Linked DNA regions of Homo sapiens: region 1 is linked to region 2. Evidence: promoter capture Hi-C in human tissues and cell types (Jung and others, 2019). All regions are on one chromosome and are shown on one strand. Each heading gives the region's core, a stretch centred on a gene start or on the middle of the fragment in contact. The rest is flanking DNA. Distances are from core to core; before and after follow the strand shown.

Region 1 (4,234 bases), core at 827-3,326, 1.1 Mb before region 2:
AACTCTCTTGTTAGAACAGTAGACATAAAAAAGTCCATAAATGGGGCCTGCCGTGTTGGTTCACACCTGTAATCCCAGCACTTTGGGATTGCTTGAAGCCAGGAGTTTGAGACCAGCCTGGGCAAAAAAGAAAGACACCCCACACTCCCCGCTGTCTATAAAGAAAAATAAAAATAAGTTAGCCAGGTGTGGTGGTGTGTGCCTGTAGTCCCAGCCCCTTGGGAGGCTGAGACATGAGGATCACTTGAGCCCAGCAGGTGAAGGCTGCAATGAGCTATGATCTTGTCACTGCACTCCAGCTTGGGTGTCAGAGTGAGATCCTGTCTTGAGAGGGGGAAAAAAAAGTCCACAGATGGGGGCCAACTGACCCCAGCTGTGGACTGTGGAAAGGAAACAGATATAGGGTCTAAGGACCAGCACCTCTAATCTGAGTGTTTGTTTTTCTCTGAAATTGACTGGGTAAACTTGCTCCAATTCTGGTACTTACTCTCAAATTGAATTAGTTTTTTTCATTTATGCATAGCCAAGTACACTGCTTGACACATGGCAGGCACTCATATATTTGTGAAAAGAAGGGAGGATGAGAGGGAGCGAGGGAGAGAAGGAAAAGTTTACAAAGATAGATTTAAGTTCTTCGATTTTTTTGCATAAGTCACAAATTGTTATAGAATCTTTGAAGTAACTGCTTAGGTGTTAACAAGACAAGGCAATACATTAGAAATCTTATTTTTTCATGTAGATGAGTACTATGTATAAATATGAATAAAGCATCTGGGAAATGCCTTTGATCCAGTTCATCTGCCTGTGGGCAGCTTCATTGAAGCAAGTTAATTTTGCAGGCTTGCCATTCTAATTGAGTCACTAATTCATGTATGCATATATTCATTTATTCAGCAAACATTTACTGAGAGCCTCCTATGGGCCTGGCACTGAAGTATGTGCTGAGGTTACAAAAATGAGTAAGATGGTTTCTACCCATAAAAAGCTCAGACTGGTGACAAGAACTGATATATTGTGGTGATGGCTGCACAACTCTTTGAGTACACTAAAAACCATTTAATTGTACAATTTAAATTGGTAGATTGTATGCTATGTAAATTATATCTCAAAACTGTTTAAAAGAAACACAGCCTGAGGCGAAATCTTTAAAAAGTTACCTAGGTGATGTAGGGTACGGTACACACGAAGCAGAGAAGATAGAATGAACCAAGTTATGGAGGTGAGAAACGTGTGTGTGTGTGTGTGTGTGTGTGTGTGTGTGTGTGTGTTGTGGGGGAGGTAAGCTGGGAAGTGATAAAATCCGTAATCAGATTTGTTTTAGATAAACCACACCGACAGCTGTGACGTAATGGAAAGTACACTCATTCTGTTTTGTTTTTGTTTTTTTTTCCTATCAGAATAACTTGTGCGTGGGTCTTGGAGCTGCCATTTTAAAACTAGAAATGTTTTATAAATGTCAAGTATTATTATTCAATTGATCCTAATGGTAAGTCTACTCGCTTGCCAGCAGGGGGTAAATGTAGAGATTAATTTAAGATTTTAAAGCTAAGGTTGATCTTGCGCTGACAGAAAGTTTGACAATTAGCAAAAAAAGTTTGTCAGTGAGTTGGACACCTCCCTCGGGTAGCGGCGAAAACGCCTAGAGAATTTTTAAAATAAGTCTTTCCAAGGCCGGAAAAGTGGCGGAGGAAGCTAGTGGGTTTCAGGGTTCCTGTTTTTCAAGATTTTACGTTGGGTATTAAGTACTCTCACAGCCTGTTAAAATTGTCGCTCTGAGTACACTTGCAGGATCAAAAAAGAAAAAGAATAAGAAGGAAGGATTAAAATAATCACAGCATCGCCAACAGGATCGTATTTTCCCGAAGGTGGTTAACCAGCCATACCGGAACCACGAAACACACAGGGTCCTGGGCAACACGGAGGACTAACAGTAACACCGCCACGCCGGCAGCAAAGCTCATTTTGGTCCCCGCCCCGTTCCTCTTTCTCTTTTTAACTCCTTCCCTCTTTGCGGATTCTAGAACGGAACCTTTTTTTAATTCTTCCCAGTAGAAACGTAGGAACAATTTCGTGAACGCAATCCGGAGTGCCCAACATGGCGGCGGCCGTAAGGTGCATGGGTAGAGGTAAGGCGAGGGGTTGTCTTGCAGGGGAAATGGCTCTGGCACCGAGTCTCTGGTTGCAGCAGAGTGCAAGGCGGATTCTGCTCTGGGTGCTGAAAATGCCTCGTGCTGTTTCTGGTCTCTAGGTTTTTCAGAGGGTGGGTCATTACTACTTAAAAGTGACCTTATGAAGGGTTTCACTCCATTCTGGAGACGTCCACCCTGAGGGAGGGAGTGGGAGCGGGACGTACATCGAGCGCCCTCCAGCCACCTATGGGCATGGCAAGGACTGGGTCGTCTCTGATACTGGGGTGTGGGCTGCGGGTAGTGGAGTGTGATAAGTGAGGTGAGTTCTGATAAGGGAAAGATGATGTATTTGAGTGGCTTAAGTCTGTAAATTAGAGCAATTTTCAAAGTGCTTTTTGGTGCTTTCGGAATTACTTCGTTATAGGCGATTCCAGTTCTTAAACTTCCATAGGTGGTCTAATTTGGATCAACGTTTATCATTTGAGGGGGCTAATTCTGTAGTACCTCTTGGTAGCGCCTCTTTTCATCTTAATAATTTCAACTTTTTGTCTACGATGACAGCCCTTTCTTGTGCAACAATTTTTTTTTTTTTTTTTTTTTGAGACGGCAGTCTCGCTCTGCCACCCAGGCTGGGAGTGCTGTGGTGCGATCTCAGCTCACTGCAACCTCCGTCTCCCAGGTTCAAGCGATTCTCCTGCCTCGGCCTCCCGAGTAGCAGAGACTACAGGCGTGTGCCACCATGCCTGGCTAATTTTTGTATTTGTAGTAGAGACAGGGTTTCACCATGTTGACCAGGCTAGTCTTGCACTCCTAATCGCAGGTGATCCGCCCTCCTCGGCCTCTCAAAGTGCTGGGATTACAGGCGTGAGGCACTGCGCCCGGCCTGTGCAACGCTTTTTGCTTTTATTTTGTGTTTTTGAAGTCCAGTGATATATATTGTTTAATTTAGGTAGGTCTTTAGGTAGAAGCAGTAGCCAGCATTACCCCCATTTTACAGAGGAAGAAACTGAACTTATTAGATATGTGGCCAAGTTCATATAACTAGTAAATGGCAGAGGAAGTACTGAAGCTTGCAATCCTAGGTCAGTGATACATGTATATTTAACACTGCATCACAGTTTTTTTTTTTTTTTTTTTGAGTTTCTTTTTAGGAAAACTGTGTCAAGAGAGTTATTGCTCAAAAATTAGGGGTGACAAGAGATAACAACAGACCCTGATGCCTACTTTGTGAGCAAACCAAAATGTATATTATTTCTGAAAGGAGGTTGAAGGCATCTTCATGTATGACAGAAATCGTTATGTTACACAAATCCAAAGAAACCAAAAATACCTGAATATTATAATTTTCTTGTCACATTTTCTTCTCTTGGCTTCTAGGATATCTCTCTGTTAATTGTCTTCCTATTTCATGTGTCATTTTTTCTCACATTACTTGGCTGGTTCCTCTTCCTCTCCCCAGCCTCTTTACTTTGGAGTGTTCTGGAAGCCAGGGTTCCATCCTTCATTCTCATCTCTTCTGTATCTAAATTCACTCCTTGGTTAGCTCATCCAAAGTTTGTGGCTTTGATTATTGTCTATCTTTTTTATTTTTTTAATTGTTTACTTATCAGGAGAAACTTTCACATTTCATAGTTCAAGAACACAGGTCAGTGACAAACTTTTAGGTAATTCAACCCAAAGAAATTCTTTATATTGCAAAATCACTTTGTGCTCTGAAATATACGTTTTCCTCATCTCCTCAAAATCTTTTATGGAATCATCATTTCTGTAGGAGTCGACACATGCCTTCTTTCTTGGCTCAGCCACCGCGAACATAGCGAAAACCCCCAGGGATACAATGAATGCTTCAACAATATGAAATTGCAAATGTTTTGCCAGAAGGCCCCACATCGGAGGTTCATTAAAGCACTGGAAGCCACGGTAGCTACTGTTCTTTTTAGGTATTAGCCTCAATACCAGCATTCTTCCTGGCTGTTGGAGAAATGGATGGCCAATTATTGTGTATATCTTTTTTTTTTTTTTTTTTGAGAAGGAATCTTGCTCTGTCACCCAGGCTGGAGTGCAGTGGCACGATCTTGGCTCATGCAACCTCTGCCTCCCGGGTT
Region 2 (3,996 bases), core at 1,186-3,685:
ACGAAAAGTTAGGTGTCTCCTGCACAGTAGACACACCTGACAGCAGTATCTTAAGCATACCCTGAGAATGACCCTATATGAAAAACACACTTGAATGTGTGTTTACAATTCCAAGCACGGCCAACCCTTAGACTGATTCCTTATCTATGAGGAACATCTGAGCCCCTGTCCCATCTCATGGAATGCTGACTGTACATGGGATGGAGGCCTTTTGTTTTGCAAATGAAGATTACCAGATGGAGGTTGTTAGGGGGAAGGGTGCTAAGTAAAAATGCTATTTAAACTGCATGCTTTCTGCAGGCGGCAGAGGTTCTCCCGTTCAGGCCACTGTCACTGGACCTCTCTGTAAATTACCCTAGTAAAACCCTATGTCTTGTTTACTGGCTTTGGGTCTCTTCTTCCGTCTTTCGAACCTGGTGCCATCCTTATTGAAGTTAACAGGAGTCCAGCACCACATCTTCGTATTCTGTTCAGTTTTAAAATCAAATAATCATCTTCATTATCATCATCTGTTCAGCTTCACAACCACTGGTGATGACAACAATCACCATTTATTGACGGCTTATTAGGTTCCAGGCCATGTATAGCATTTCACACACAGAATCTTACTGAATCTTTTTTTACCTCTGGAAGCAGATACTGTGATTACCCTCATTTTTATATGTGGGTATAATGAGGCTCAGTGAGGTTACATTTTGCTCCAGGTCTCAGAGCTGTTAAGTGGCAGATTTGGATACTAAAGTCTTTGACTCAATAGCTCAAGAGCTAATGCTCTATACTTAATTTTCCACTCCATGAGATTTGGACCCTAACATCAGAACGCAGAAGACCACTGCTAGTTGAGTAGAAAATATTTAAGGCAATTCACTGCTTGCCCTATTCTTGTGGAACTCCAGATCCACAGCAGAACTCAGCTGTGTAATTTACTCATGCACAGGAGGCACTGGGGAGGAAAACGGTAATTACGCTTCAAGTTGTGAATCCTAAGGGCCATCCATTCAAGCCAAGTAGGGATGGGCAGTGATGTCACCTTGTGACCATGAGTCACAGAAACACTTTCATGGCAGGACAAAAGGAAAGAAGGGCAGGAAAAGACAATGCTGGAAAAATCAAGAATCAGACATGTGGTTGCCGCTTGAGCAATTCAACAGCCCACATTCTGGCACTAGGGTTTGCCACTACAGCGACCTGGAGCTAACCAACACCTGTATCTTAATTCTCCTGAAGCAGAGGTCCTGTATTTTAGTACAGGTAGTAAGTTTGGACAGTTACTCCAAGAACTAGAATAGTTATTTTTCAGTTTTGTTTTTTTAAAACACGGATTTTCAAGGGACTGTGGTTTTAAAGGTTTAAAATGATAAAGAAATTTCTTTCTTAGAGATGCTTCTGTGGTGCTCTAGTGGAGACTGGGTGCCCGTTATGAGCTCTCTTTACCACAGTACTTTTCCTACACAGCATTTTTTCCACAATGGTTATTATGTAATTGTGTAATTATCTATTTAATGTCTGTTACCCAGGCTACACCTTAGTAGCTTCATGAAAACAAGGGCCATGTTTGCTTTTTTTTCTGCATGGGCTCCATAAGTATTTGCCAAATGAATAAATCTCGGGTGTATATGTTAACTTGTTTCCTATTATACAGGCACTTATCTGGCCCAAAGCTACTGAATTCCCACAGTGTTGCTCTAAAAAGAAAGGTATACACCGGGCAAATATGGCTCAGCCCCATTTCAATATATATCTCAATGAGCCGAACAAACCGAATAAAGGATGTAAAAGCCCTTTGTAAAGAGCAAAGCGTCATAGGAGAGCTGTAATTATGATCACTGTTACTATCATGATTATTCCGTGGACCAAGTACCCCGGCCAGGTAAGGGGAGATAACGGGGGAGGAGAGGCGGCAAAAAGGGATGAAAAGGATGGGGCGGCGAGGAAATGATGGGCAAGCAGAAAGGCGGGGAAAGCAGAAGGGGGACCAGACAAAAAGGGTGTAGGTGAGAGAAGGGGGCACTCCAGGCGGAGGCAGCCAGACCGTACCTTTTGATACACAGCCTGGACGGCAGGTAGGCCCGGTAGCCGTCGGTGATGTACGGGTTGTCCTTGAGGGACCCGGGGATCTGCTCGTAGGTGTACAGGCGGATGCCACGGGGCACCAGGACCGGCCAGTACTGGTAGCTGCCCAGCTCGATGTAATGCGCGCTCTTCAGCAGCTTCTGATGCATCGTTCCCGGCCGCCGCCGCTCCCCGGCTCGGGAGCTCCCCCAGGTCCCGCCTCCCCGGGGAGGGGGCTTCGCCGCTGGCGCCCCCGCCCCGGAGCCCGCGGACGCTGCGCGAGGTCCTACCGCGCTGCCGCTGCTGCCCAGGGCCCGGCTCTGCGCTCACACCGGCCACTGCCGCCAGCGCCGCGGCGGACCCGGCAGCGTCGCAGCCTCCTCTGACGTCAGCGCGCCGCGGCGGCCCCGCCCCTCAGCCCTAGCTGGGAGGGGCAGGGTGCTGGGGCGCGCCCGGGTGTGCTCGAGCGTGCGCTGGCGGCGGCCCGGGCTCCCGGGCGTCTCTCACGCTGTGTTTTGGCGGCGCCTGGGGTCTTCGTTTGCATATGAGAAGAGCCGAAAGCACAGAGCTACAGGCGAATACAAGTGGATTTTTTTTCTTTTTCTGTTTTTTTATTAGAAGTAATAGTTGCTGCATTTTGAAAAATCAAGAGGAAAAGAGTTAACAGGAAGAAAAGTTCGAGGTAATTACCGTTTAGTTTATGCTTGGAATTACACACACTTAGTGTCAGAAGGGACTTTGAGGATTTCTAAGCTGAAGTCAGCTCTTAGCACGATAATTGGAAAGAGAGGAAACCTGATGCACGTGGAACATACACCAGCATCGAGCACATCCTGAGCCATAAAGGAAAGCCCCCGTGCATTCAAAACTCCGACCCCTTTCAGCGTTATGTTCTCTGATCACAGTAGAATTAAACTAGAGTAACAAGAAAACTAAAAGTCTCCACGTCTGGAATAGGAGCAATACACCAAATATTTCAAGGGCTGATGAAGAAATCACAATGGAAATGAGAATATCTACTTAACTGAATAATATAGAACATATTAAAAAATCCTGTGGAGTGCGGCTATAGTAGCGTTTACAGGAAGTGTTGCAGCTTTGTTTCTGGCTATTTACTGTAATGCAAGTGTTTACTTATAATGGCAACAGGGCAAAACATCAGTTTGAGTACCGTATGTGTATAATAGAACGCTTAGTCCATTGTTTGGCATTGTAAGGGCAAGAAAAATATCTTGTCCTCACTTATCACAAGGTTCACAGCTGACATTCCTATGAAAAAAATTAAGAGAAGCCAGGCGCAGGTGGCTCATGCCTGTAATCCCAACATTTTGGAAGGCCGAGGCAGGCGGATTGCTTATGCCCAGGAGTTGGAGACCAGCCTGGGTAACATAGTGAGACGCTGTCGCTACAAAAAAAACCAACCAAACAAACAAAAAACAAAAATTAGTCGGGTGTGGTGATGGGCGCCTGTAGTCCCAAACTATTCTGGGCTGAAGTGAGAGGGTTGCTTGAGCCTGGGAGGTCGAGGCTGCAGTGAGCCATGTTTGTGCCACTGCACTCCAGTCTGGGTGACAAAGCGAGACTTTGTCTCAAAAAATAAATAATAAAAATTAACAAGAAAAGGGATAATAAATTCATTTAACACAGTTTTATGTGACAGAGGAGTCTTCAGAAATGAAGACACAAAGACCCAGGAAAAAATGGGCTTTTTATGCTAAGTCTGATGAAAGGAGTGGATAGTTGTGGAGAAACATGATTGAAAGGGGGCATCATCTAATGATAATAAACTGAGGGGGGATCCTAGCTAGCAAGGCCAGTTCATTCAAATTCTTGGCCTCAGAGTATGGGGCAGGAACTCTCTAGAATGAGGGTTTTATGACCTAGTTTCAGGTGAGGTAAGTCAGAACTCCTTTGTGACCACGGAAAGGCAGGGACAGTCAGAAA

The links. The method cuts DNA at HindIII sites, captures the fragments that hold promoters and counts their contacts. A contact is called where the count stands out against the background at its distance.
Region 1: the fragment with the promoter of MRPL1 here is called in contact with the fragment with the promoter of PAQR3 in region 2 in 1 of the 25 tissues and cell types used here (small bowel).

Annotation. Positions count from the first base shown.
Region 1 is chr4:77,860,754-77,864,987 of GRCh38, forward strand. It overlaps MRPL1 (mitochondrial ribosomal protein L1), which reads left to right and starts at 2,077. Exons shown (of 9, transcript NM_020236.4): 1 at 2,077-2,126. The coding sequence starts at 2,096. RefSeq lists a silencer at 65-280 and enhancers at 1,765-2,164, 2,525-2,624. The HindIII fragment of the contact is 8,859 bases long and covers 1-4,234 here.
Region 2 is chr4:78,937,003-78,940,998 of GRCh38, forward strand. It overlaps PAQR3 (progestin and adipoQ receptor family member 3), which reads right to left and starts at 2,436. Exons shown (of 6, transcript NM_001040202.2): 1 at 2,038-2,436. The coding sequence starts at 2,222. RefSeq lists silencers at 1,966-2,035, 2,126-2,615. The HindIII fragment of the contact is 22,278 bases long and covers 1-3,996 here.